Regions from separate parts of the Homo sapiens genome. Here region 1 is linked to region 2. Evidence: promoter capture Hi-C in 16 types of primary human blood cells and fetal thymus (Javierre and others, 2016). All regions are on one chromosome and are shown on one strand. The core of a region is centred on a gene start or on the middle of the fragment in contact, and the rest is flanking DNA. Distances in the headings are between cores, read along the strand shown.

Region 1 (6,662 bases), core at 47-2,546, about 21 Mb before region 2:
CCCTGCAGGCTGGCATCGGATTCTGTTGATATTCCAGACTGTCATAAAGATGAGATTGTAAAGCTAAGATGGTAGAAGTCATCTAATTCAGCTTCGTGTTTTTCCTGGGGAAATTGAGATTCAAGAGGGTAGACGAGGTTCCCTAGGACGTATAGCCAAACCTGGGGTCTATGCATTTCCGAGGCATTTATAGTCACAGCTGTTCTCCCCCAACCTGAAGAAGAAAATGAGAACATGTTGAACTAGGTGTGGTATGGTAGGGGTACAGTTCACAGATCCTGTTTTTTGCCATATTTTGTGCTTTCATTTCTGTTATTTTCCTTCTGCAAGGTCATAATAAACTTAGATTTCAGCAAATATTGTTGCGCAACTGGTTTTTTGAAGGATGTTTCTAAATATCTTGCTCAAATATAGACCAAATAAGATAGGGCAACAAGGTAAAATTTGCCAAGAGGGAATAAAGTGGCATGTTACCTTGATAAGGGAAAAAGAAAGGAATTGAGAATTATGAAGAGAAAGACTTGGGACGGGCTGAGAGGCACAGATAGGCCTAACATTCAGGTGTGACCAGGAGAATTATACAATCCAATTGAGCAACAGAGAATTGATCCCTAAAACTCCCATCAGTACAGGGAGATGGACCACGGGTCAGGGATGGTACAGGAAGACCTCACTGCCTGAGCTGGGGGAAGGGAGAGTTTTCTTCCTGGAGATCTCAGACCCCAGGACAAATCTACAGCACCCAGGCAGGTTCCTTCTTCTGCCATAAATGGACTGAGGGAAGAAACTAGGAGACTGAGGCAAATCTGTGATCCTGGAAGTTCTAGTCCCTCCACAGACTTGGATAGAAACCCTTCAGATTCTGAGTACCTCAGCCCCCTGAAAGAAACTACCAAACGAATGGACCGCAGAGTCATTTGGGAATGGATCTTAGCTGTCAAACATGACATGTAAAGAATTGATCTGCAGATGCAAACTCTACCCAAGTAGTGGGGTCAGGCCTCCCTTGGAGACAGCTCTCGACTCAGCTCTGAGGTCGGACACACTTTACCCTGGCTCTGCCACCTGCTAGCTTGGCGACTTTCCTGTAGTTGCTTTGCCTCTCTGTGCCTCAACTTCCTCATCAGTGAAATAGAGATATGAACAGTAACTAACCCAATGGGTTGGTTGTGAGGATTAAAGCAAATGATGTGTGCAAGGCACTCAGCAGACAAATGGATCCTAATGCGTGTTCCTTCTGCCCTTTTACCTTCTCTATTAACTGGCTCCTAGCTGGGGACACCCATGCAGACTGGTGGGACTTTGCGTCTTCTTGTCTCTGACATGGGTACCTCGTCCTGTGTCTGGAATATAAGCTCCTGAGGACAGAGACCATGTTACATATTTGTTCAATCTCTCCAATTCCTTTTGACTTGCAGGAGAACATCCTTGGGTCGTGCAGTGGAGAGGCACTGGCTCAGAGCTGTGTGTCCTAATCCCAGGTGGGGTCCCAGCTGGTATCCCAGCTCACTGTGTGACCTTAGACCAGCCTCTTTCCCTCTAGAGGCCTCAGTCTTCCTTACTACAAATCCAGGTAACTTTTCTGGACCAGTGCCTACCAATGCTGGATGCCATAGGAATCGTCTAGGGTGCTCCTTAAAAATACAGATTTGAGGTCCACAAGCCTAGATCTTGCTGGAGCAGAATCAAATGCCTGGGTCCCAGTCTGCAGGACTCTCTGCTGATCTAGACACAAAGTTAGCACTCTTCAAAATCATCTGGTTTATCTCATAATGATAACAGTGAGAATGATGAATTAAAGGCAGTTGACTCTTCCAAGAACCACTTACCCCCCACTGCCTGTAGATAAAGGGGATACCAGGGCTCCATAGATGGGATGTGCTTTCAATATCAACTTCTAAGTCAGCTTTCTGAGTGTGATAATCATCCCACCCTTCCAAGCTAAGATTTCATAACAATTGTATTTATTCTTTGGATTTGCTAGCTATAAGATAAAAATATGGCTTAAAATGTGCTCCAAAAGAAGGCTGCCACAAACCATGAGGCCCACCCTTGTGAGAAGAACCTAGGATCCTCAAGGAGAAACATTTAACCTCAAATGCTCCACCCCAAAGCAGCAAGTTGAGAGATACTTCAAATGTGAACATTTATGCTGTTGAGGACAAGTTGAAACTAGCACCTCATATGATTGCTGATTGGTCTAGGAAAATAACCAAGATCTTAAAAATGCTCGTTCCTATGGATCCTATATAACTCGGTTCTGAGGTTCTGACTTAAACAATTTATCTCAAAGAGGGAGAAAAAAGTTCGCAAAATAGTATCCATGATTGTCTCTATTTTGATTGGGATGAGGTACTGCAAACAAATGAAGCTGCATTTTCATTTGCTCATTTTACTTACTGTATATAAGTTATGCTGTAATTAAAAGGGGAATATTTCTGAAAGAGACATTAAAGCCTGTTCTGAAACTTGTCACCTAAAACCCATGGAACCTCATGCAAGTTACTTGCTGTCTGTGCCTCTCATTCCCCATCTGCAAAATGTGAGGGTTAAATGATTGAAGACTAGTTTAACTACTTGGTACACTGCCTGCCACACAGAAAGCTTTCGATAATTGTTCGCCGTTTTTATTATCATTATTGAAACAGCAGCTTGGTAAATAATCTAAATGTTCAGCAATAAGGGCATGATTAAATAATGTTGTGGTCATTAAAATTATTTTAAATTGAGTTTGCATAACACTAGGCAGTGTTTATATTATCCCTTTAGGTAATTTAAGAGAAAAAAGTCAGAATAATGAGATTGAATATAAATCATAACCTCAATTATGTTTAGAAACATGCTAGGAAGAAAGCATGGAAAGAAACACCGAGGTCGTCTCTGGGCATCGAGACAATGGATGGTATTTCTTTTCTTCTTTTAGCTCTCCTTCCTGAGGAGCATAGGGCAGAGCTCTGCATGCCTTGAAGGCAGTCTTTCTGTAAGGGTTGGCCCCGAAGCCTTAGAGCAAGGCAATTTCTCCATTTCAGGCAGTCCCAAGGGGGTAGTGAAAGCGAGGCTGAGGTGGGGACTGGGCCCTCTGTTAGCCAAGGGAGGGCAGTGGGGAGCCTGGCTAGCCACAAGTACCGCAAAGTGCTAAGTTTCTGGGGCAGGCAAGGGAGAGGAACCAATGGTAAGAGACTGCCCGTCACTAACAACACCTTCCCCTTCTCTTTGCAGCTCAACTATAAGGACTGTGAGAAGGCAGTGAAGAAGTACCACATCGATGGGGCTCGCTTCTTGGTAAGCTCTGGCTAGTCCAACACACTGAAACCAAGACTGTTCGGCACTTTTCCCCATGGCTGCAGGGCCAACTGGCCTACCCTTTCCCTGGGGACACCCGAGGATCCCTTTGCTTTTTCCAGAAATTTGGTAGGGCCCCCTCTCTCACTACCTTTCAGGATCCTATCATCCAGAACCCCTCTCTGATCTTCCACTTACACCTTAAGGAGGAATCCAAGTATAGTAAACAAATAATCTGGAAAATCTATTTAAATGCCATCCATCCTTTGAGAAGCCCAAGGGGAAGAAGGACCATATGGGTGAACAGAAGCTTCTCACCTCCAATCTCTCACTCTGGAGCACATACTCATGAGTGGAATAAAGGATGGCATCACCCTCATTGTTTCAATTACTTCCTTCTTTCTCACTACCAAATTCATAAAGCTGATTTTGCATCAAGCACACATGTGATATGGCTGTCTCCACTGTATTATACTTCAAAAAGCTTGAAGTCTAAGACCAAGGTGCAGGTATGTATTAAAGACTAAGCCATTAAAGGGAAAAGGATGCAGCTCTAATGGTGGAGACAGAGGTGCTAGGTTGTGGTCGGGGAGGTGGTTTGAGCATTTTCCCTGAAATGACACCTTTGCCCATGGGTTAAGAAAGACCCTGACTGCACCAATCCATCCTTTCTGGGAACTTTGCTTTACTCTTTGAAAATAAGACTTCAAGGGTCTCATGGGGGTAGATGTTCCTAATTTAAATTCAGAGTGAATAGAGTAAGCTAAGTTGTGTCTCCCTGTAAGACACTGTCAGTAAGGGAACTTGACCATGAGACTTCAGGCCAGTTGGATGAGACCAGAGAGATCACAAGCTCCAGCTTGCCCCCAGAGAACACCAATCCATTTCTTATATTACATCTCTGCTACCAACATCTTCTTGAATTCCTTCAGTGATGGTGAGCTCACCACCACCCACAGTCATCTGCCCCTTTCTAGGCAGCTCTCAAGTCTTGTGCTGAAACTAACCTGTGCTCCTATTGGTCTGAGTTTTGCTTCCAGGTGCCATGTAAGACATGTTTATTCACTGTCCACCTAAATCATTCATTCATTCGCCTATTCGTTCACTTGACAAGCAGTTTCCCGAACTGCTTTTACATACTGGAGAGCATTATAGGTGGTGGGGATAGAGAAATGGCTAAGATGTGATTTCTGCCTTCTAGAAACTTGTTTTATAGCAGAAAGGTATGTTCAGAAAGGCTTCCAACTACCTCATTTGCAGATGAGGAAACACATGCAGAGCTGTGATGTGATTTGTTCTATGTCACATACCTACTAATTGAACTAAGGCATACACTTAATTTAGTCTGATACCATTTGACTTTTTAACAGTATTATTTATTTGTATTGAGATTTGAGTCAGTAGAATTCCTGGAGCTTTAGTGCCATTCTTGCAAATTACTGCTAAACCCAAATATTTCATTCTGGTGCTATTAGCACTGAGAACAGAGACTTATCACAGTTGAATGGAAAGGGAGGAAGACATCTTTGAGGATGGTGCCTACGACGCCCTGTTGCCTGGGTCACCCTGAGCAAGTACTTGCCCTCTCTGAGCCTGCCTTGCTTCCTACCCTGTTGACTGAGCACATTGGACTGGGTCATAGTGGGTGATGGCCCCTCCCGGCTCTGTAATTCCCCACAACAGTCCTGGTGCGAGTGTCAGGCCTGGTAGAACAGGGTTGTTTGAGAGATGGTATCTAGGCAGCTATGTTTCCTCTGCTCCAATCAGTCCTCTATCAGTCCTTCAGACAATGTGGCACATTCTGTTCATTGTATGAAGAGGAGGAAGTGCAAAGTAGGGTGATAGGAACCAGAAGAAAAGAAGAAGAATCCAGTGCCTGTCCCTGCAACTGGGGGATGTAAAGGCAGCTTCTGCTGAAACCCACCCTCCACCCCTAGTGCACTGGGTACAATTTGGGACGCTTGATCTAAGCTCTAATTACTAATCTATCACCCTTTCCAGCTCTGTAATATCCAGGGCCACTCTGCTATTGAAGGCAAAAGTGAAAGGCCCTAGTTATTTTTCCTTCCTTCCTTCCTTCCTTTCTTCCTTCCTTCCTTCCTTCCTTCCTGCCTTCTTTCCTTCCTTTCTTCCTTCCTCCCTTCCCTTGTCCTCCCCTCTCCCCTTCCCTTGTCCTCCCCTCTCCCCTTCCCTCTTTTCCCTTCCCTTTCCTTCCCTGTCTTCTTTCTTCTCCCTCTCTTTCTTTTCTTCCTTCCTTCCCTCTCTCCATCTCTCTTTCTTTCTCTCTTTCTTTCTCTCTTTCTTTCTCTCTTTCTTTCTTTCTTTCTTTCTTTCTTTCTTTCTTTCTTTCTTTCTTTTCTTTCTTTCTTTCTTCTTTCTCTCTCTTCTTTCTTTACTTCTTTGCCATTTTTGTTTTCCACTGAAAAGGTTAGATCCTTATCTGGTAGAAGCTATGCTTCTAGAAGTTATAAAAAGAAGAGAAAAGGAGCTTGAGACTTGTGTCAGTTGGGAAGGCATGTGACCCCATGTTGCAGAAACCTGACCACAGTGGCCTAACCAAATAAAGGTCAGTCTGTTTCAAGTAATAAATGTATAGGCGGGTGCCAGGGGATGGTGAAAGAAGACATCAAGAACCCAGGCTTCATCTAACCGATGGAAAAAGCCTGTGGCTTCTGTCCTAACAGTTGTCAGTTGGCTACTCCACCTTTAGGCATCATATCTCCATGGCAGGCAGGGAGACGGGGAGAAAGGCAAAGAGGAGAAGGTGTATGGTGAATGGTAAATGCATGCTCCCTTTTTTCCAGGGAAGTAGTAACTTTTCCAGAAGCTCCATCCAGCAGACTTTGGTTATATCTTACTGTCCACAACAGAGTCATGTGACCTCCACCATCTGCAAGGGAGCCTGGAGAGTTAAATATTTTGAACAAGCACATTTACTGCCCTGAATGAAACCCAGGACCTGTCAGTAGGAAAACAAAGGGAGAGTGGGTATTGGGTAGGCAAGCAGCCATGTCTGCCACATTGCCTCTCCCACCAGGGCCCAGTTTGTGGCTTTCCTCTTTCTGTACCCCTCTTCTCAACACCCACAGCATATAATCATACTCCCACAAAGCCATAAATCTTAACTCCAAAATCATCATGCAAATAACCCAGAGTTTACTGGAGGCTTTTGGAAAAGGTGGAGGAGGGGGTTACATCACATAGCAAAACTCTCCAAAAATTCTGTTTCAACATCTCTCATCTTTCCTCACAGTTCTTGTCCCCGTTCTGAATGTCTTCCTCTTTCCTGACACCCTGCTCCTCTGTGTCTCCAGCCAGGCTCATGTCCACCTCCTCCTCCACAATCTTCCTGAAATTCCCTCAGCTTACGCCCTCGTCTC
Region 2 (6,091 bases), core at 2,335-4,834:
AGTAGCTGGGACTACAGGCGCCTGCCACCACGCCCGGCTAATTTTTGTACTTTTTAGTATAGACGGGGTTTCACCATATTGGCCAGCTGGTCTCGAACTCCTGACCTTGTGATCCGCCTGCCTTGGCCTCCCAAAGTGCTGGGATTACAGGCGTGAGCCACCGTGCCTGGCCTAAAAGACTCCTTTCATTACACCAAAGCTGCTGCTGATTCAATAAGTACAGAATGATTTGTGACTTTAACAGCAACACCAAAAACAGGTTATTCTTCAATCTTTTAGGCTAAAATTACTGCAAATGATACATGACTTTAAGAAGAAGGCTGAGTCATAGCCAACACCTGAGGACTTCATTTTCTATGTAAAAAAAAAAAAAAACAATTTTGCCATTCTTAAATCCAATAAATTTAAATCTTAAGAAACTAAAATCACATTTGAAAAGGCTAGACCCACTCACATCTCATTTTTGTGCATTTTGCTGGGCACTGTCAGTGTTGGAATGGTGACTATAGCAGGCAGGAAACAAAGGAGGACTCATACCTTATATACAAAATTATAGAATCTCAGGGTTAGAAGGGTTTCCAGAAGTCATTTAGACCAGTAGAATTTAATGGGCTTACACAAGTTCTAAAAAAAAGGCGAGGAGGATTAGACATACAAGTACCTATCATTCATTCATTCATTCATTCATTTATTGAGACAAGGTCTCACTCTGTTGCTCAGGCTGGAATGCTGTGGTTTGATCATAGCTCACAGCAGCCTGGAACTCCTGGAGTCAAATGATCCTCCTGCCTTGGCCTCCCAAAGTGTTGGGATTACATGCATGAGCCACCGTACGCAGCTTTCAACTTTTTTTTTGAGACAAAGTCTCACTCTCTTGCCCAGGCCGGAGTGCAGTGGCACAATCTCGGCTCACTGCAATCTCTACCTCCCCAGTTCAAGCGATTCTCATGCCTCAGCCTCCCAAGTAGCTGGGATTACAGGCATGCGCCACCACGCCCGGCTAATTTTTGTGTTTTTAGTAGAGACAGGGTTTCACCATGTTGGCCAGGATGGTCTCGAACTCCTGACCTCAGGTGATTGCCCTTCCTTGGCCTCCCAAAGTGCTAGGATTACAGGTGTGAGCCACTGCACCCGGGCTCAACTTTTAACCGAGCAAGAATATTTTAAAAACCAAAACCATCTACCATCGGCACCTTTTTATAAAAGAGCATTTTAATGACACATATGTGAAAAGACTAAATCTCAGAATGAAATATAATGTGAAATCAGATAAATAAATGAAAGATGTATTGCTTACTTTTCTCACATCCTCATGGCAAACTTTGTTAGCCACTTGCACCTGTCCATACACAGATCTTTGGGAATCACTAATTTAGACCACTTCATGCCCACCCTTACCCTGCCCCCGGCTTCATTGAGCATTTTTATCACAATACCAAAATATCCGTCTAAATGTATACCTCATCCCCTTATGGAGAACTCCTCAAGCTGAGGAATCCATTAAACTTTGGATGTGTGTGAGAAAATTAGCAGAAAAGGAGTGATCTCTGGAAAACTCAAGATGCTTAAACTTGGCTTTTTTTTTTTTAAGACCAGAATTGATTAATTAATTAATTTTTTAGATGGAGTGGAGTCTCGCTCTGTCTCCAGGCTGGAGTGCAGTGGCACGATCTCGGCTCACTGTAACCTCTGCCTCCCAGGTTCAAGCGATTCTCCTGCCTCAGCCTCCCTAGTAGCTGGAGCTACAAGGCACATGCTACCATGCCCAGCTAAGTTTTGTATTTTTAGTAGAGACAGGGTTTCACCACGTTGGCCAGAATGGTCTCGAACTCCCGACCTCAGGTGATCCAGCCGCCTCGGCCTCCCAAAGTGCTGGGATTACAGGTGTGAGCCCACCATGCCCGGCTGCATTTTATATCAGAATTTAACAGCAGATTTTAACTTAGTCAAAACATGCTTTAGAGTCACCAAAGGAGAATGATGTCTAACAGTGCTGATTTGGGAGTTGGGCACCCTGAGTGTTGGTTGGGCTTTAAAAACTTCATGCTAAACTTCAGGGGAAGTCTCCTCCCCTCTCTCTTCAGTTGTCTTCCGAGATGAACCCTATTACTAATTACTTGACCACCTTTCAAAGTTGCAGTTAAAATTCTTCACATTTTTCTCCCATTTCTATTTAATTAATTATTTTTTTTTTGAGACAGGGTCTCTCTGTTGCCCAGGCTGGAGTACAGTGGCGTGATCTAGTCTCACCGCAACCTCCGCCTCCCGGGTTCAAGCGATTCTCAGACTCCCGAATAGCTGGGGTTACAAGTGTGCGCCATCACACCCGGCTAATTTTTGTATTTTTAGTAGATACGGGGTTTCATCATGTTGGCCAGGCTGGTCTCGAACAACTGACCTCAAGTGATCTGCCCGCCCCGGCCTCCCGAAGTGCTGGGATTACAGGCGTGAGCCACTGCGCCCGCCCCCCATTTCTATTTTAATTAAATTTTATTTAGGATAGGCTTAGCTTAAATTTTTACGACTGAGGTCTGACTTAAGATGATAGCATCAACCATGGAGTTTTCTTTCGTGAACATTATTATTACTAAGCCCAATTTTCCCAGGTCAAATTTTGTAAAACAAAACGTGGTCAAAATTTGATTCTCTGATCGATTTTTTGTAAAAAAGAAAAAAATTACCGTGTAGTTTTAAATGTTGTCAATTAAATTTTGTAATAGTTACCTCTACTCTGTTCAGGTTAATACTGAGGTTTTCAACAAGACCAACATACGATTCTTTTTTTTTTTTTTTTTTTTTTTTTTGGTGGGGTTGAGGGGACATAACAGTTTTTTCACTCTTGTTAAATTAATTTTCTGTTGATTCCATCTATCCTTAATCTTCATTATGAGCAACATACCAGGTTTTCTTCTGAAGATCATATGTGGTAGTGAGGCAATAATGCAAAGACATAGGATGGCAGGGGGATTCCGGCTTCTTTCTTTCTTCCCCTCCTGTGGAAAGAGGGTCTATAACACTCCGTAGTAGATAGGACAATTCTAATTATGAAGGGTAATTAGCTAGGCTCTGCTACAACCGAGAGCCCTGAGAGATTCCTCGACGCTGGCTGCTTTTCTCTTCCTCTCCACCAGAGGCGACAGCCTCTTTCCAAACAGAAACTGGGTTGGAATAGGCCGGTCCGGGGGAACGGCCAGAAGAAAGATCAAAGGTTAAAAACCGCCTCAAAGAGCACAGGTCAATACCCAACTCCTAAGGAGGCCTTAAGCTTTCATCTGCCACGAAACATGAAGGTGACTCCTCCCAATATCAAGGCCGGGGGGCCACTCAGCCTTCCAGAGACCCGGCGGGTCCGAGGCGAGTAACAGGTAACACCTGCTGAGCCGCCGCCGACCGGAAGTGGAAGAGAGCCCGGGACGGGGGTGAGGACAGGCCGCGGCACGCCTGCGCAGTCAGCAGGAGTTGCAGCGCTCATGCGCAGCTGGGCGGTGACAGGGTGACGCTCGGAGCGTGGGCCGCGACTCTCACGGATCCGGTTCCGCCCTCTCGCTGCCGATCCTTCGGAGCGAGCGCCCGAGATCCCTTTCCCAGAGTGCTCTGCGCCGTGAAGAAGCGGCTCCCGGGGACTGGGGGCATTTTGTGTTGGCTGGAGCTGGAGTAACAAGATGGCGTCGTCCGCGGAGTGACAGGGGTCCCTCTGGGCCGGAGCCGGCGGCAGTGGTGGCAGCGGTATCGCCGCCCTAGCTCACCGCGCCCCTTTTCCAGCCCGCGACGTCGCCGCGCAAGCGAGGCAGCGGCGGCCGCCGAGAAACAAGTGGCCCAGCCTGGTAACCGCCGAGAAGCCCTTCACAAACTGCGGCCTGGCAAAAAGAAACCTGACTGAGCGGCGGTGATCAGGTTCCCCTCTGCTGATTCTGGGCCCCGAACCCCGGTAAAGGCCTCCGTGTTCCGTTTCCTGCCGCCCTCCTCCGTAGCCTTGCCTAGTGTAGGAGCCCCGAGGCCTCCGTCCTCTTCCCAGAGGTGTCGGGGCTTGGCCCCAGCCTCCATCTTCGTCTCTCAGGATGGCGAGTAGCAGCGGCTCCAAGGCTGAATTCATTGTCGGAGGGAAATATAAACTGGTACGGAAGATCGGGTCTGGCTCCTTCGGGGACATCTATTTGGCGATCAACATCACCAACGGCGAGGTAATCATCTGGGGTGGGGTTCACGATAACGCTGCGCTTTTACTCATTCCCCCCACCACCACCGTGCACCCCCAAAGTGCTCGGGCCTCTCCTCATCGCACGCACTCGCCAGGGAGTCCAGGGAGCTAGTTTTCCTGGCTTACGAACCTCGTCCGCTGTCTCCCTAAAAGGGTCAAGAACCCGATAGAAAGGTTGGGGGAACTAGTTTCCCACCTTGTTAAACACGTCCCATAAATGTCCCTTAGTCGAGCTTTTTTTTTTTTTAACCGTCTTTTAAGGTGGAAACGGCAAAATCCTCTTTCAGTGATTCCCATGTTTTTTTTTTTTTAATTCTTAATTCTACTGGGCCTCTTGTTCCAATTAGAACAGTTTCCGATCGCCTAGTTCCTTAAAAACCTCTCACTACGTTCAGAGGTTGCCTCTTTTTTCTGGATGAATCATTTTCCTGCACTTTAGAGGACGTACGGATTTCGTCACTACCCCCTGAAGAGGCCTTTGAGGCTGGTTGCCTCGTTTTATAATTACCGAGAGCTTTCTCTTTCCAGCTTTTCACTTCTTCTTGTAGTCGCGACTTGGAGTTTTGCTAATGTCTCCCTCCTTTCCTAAGTGACATTGAATCCGTAGGGATGTTGATGCCATCATCCCCTCTTTCCCCTGCAGGAAGTGGCAGTGAAGCTAGAATCTCAGAAGGCCAGGCATCCCCAGTTGCTGTACGAGAGCAAGCTCTATAAGATTCTTCAAGGTGGGGTTGGCATCCCCCACATACGGTAAGAACCCGGTGCATATAGGCGATCCGCTGAGGGAAGCACGGAATGGGGAAGTGGGTAGAGGCAGGTAATGAGACCAGCTGAATCCGGGTCTTGGTGTTTTAGTTACCTGGGTTCCCTATAGCTGGTGGTTTCCTGTAAGTCAGTCATCTCAATTACTGAGTAAATTTCAGTTTGCCAACTTATTTCATTGTATTACACTGCTCCATTTCGCTTCCGTCATTCTCACTCTTCCCGAGGCTTTCATTTGCAGTTATGCGTGCAGGTCATCTTTGATCCCTACGCGGAAGGGTTGGCTGCTGCCTTTTTTACGGCGGCACTTCTGATGTACTTAGGTTTGTCCAGTGAAGTGGATTTGAAGGTGCCGAAGCGACCCGGCAGTGTCAGTTCGAGTTGCTATTGGAGCTGGCTTGGGAAATGGCTGCTCTTTTGTTGTGTTTTTGTTCCAACATGTCTTCCTCCTCCGCTTAGAAAATGGCGGAACGACGTGACTCAACCCCATATTCCTGCCCTTTTCTCAGCTTGAGTTCACAAATTATGCTTCCTTGATTCCTCCTTTAGCAGCCCCGAGTGGATTAAACCTTTGAAAAGCCAAGAATAAAGCTGCAGGAGGCGGTGTGGAGGTTCGAGGAAGGAGATGGCATAGTGACAGTGTTTGTGATCTCTGCAGCAGATGTGACACGAAATTGTTGAATTACACTATGTAAAATCCTTCGTAGTTCTTTTAAAAGTGTTAATTACTCTTTCTTTTCGTGAATGGTCATATTTGGCACGTTTCAGTCGGGACTAAATTTGTATAGGTAGTGGCAAAGGCAGTTTGAGCAGCACCAACTATGTTAAAATTTACTCATATCAGTTGTATTTAAAAAAATCTTAATCACTTAGCCACACTTTGATAAGTAATTTTAACCTGTTGAGTTTGTCAGTAAATCTTCACATCAGAGAAATTGGGGCCTTTGTTGGTGTGGAATATTGGTGAGTGCAAATAGCAGTAACGAGGATAAAAGATGACGAGATAGACATTGTTCTGTCAAATGGTTAACTTTACTTTGGAGGGTTTTAATGTTTTAACTTTTGGGATTAAAGATCCTCTTCATGGAATGGAGACTAAAATATAGTTTAAAGCCCAGCTATTTTCCAGCA

Evidence for each region. Contacts are between HindIII fragments. The CHiCAGO score rates a contact against its expected background, and 5 or more counts as called.
Region 1: a contact is called between a fragment that was not itself captured here and the fragment with the promoter of CSNK1A1 in region 2, in 1 of 17 cell types (activated CD4 T cells). The highest score is 8.0, in activated CD4 T cells.

The regions. Positions count from the first base shown.
Region 1 is chr5:170,289,930-170,296,591 of GRCh38, reverse strand. LCP2 (lymphocyte cytosolic protein 2) reads left to right here. Exons shown (of 21, transcript NM_005565.5): 2 at 3,220-3,282. Among named protein-coding and RNA genes, the nearest start is that of LCP2, 4.5 kb to the left of the region's middle. The HindIII fragment of the contact is 2,620 bases long and covers 1-2,606 here.
Region 2 is chr5:149,548,932-149,555,022 of GRCh38, reverse strand. It overlaps CSNK1A1 (casein kinase 1 alpha 1), which reads left to right and starts at 3,584. Exons shown (of 10, transcript NM_001892.6): 1 at 3,584-4,181; 2 at 4,842-4,948. The coding sequence starts at 4,059. It also overlaps a transcript of ARHGEF37 not described here. RefSeq lists enhancers at 3,007-3,076, 2,634-3,427, 3,127-3,796, 3,827-3,886, 4,017-4,076 and 3 more. The HindIII fragment of the contact is 4,606 bases long and covers 3,268-6,091 here.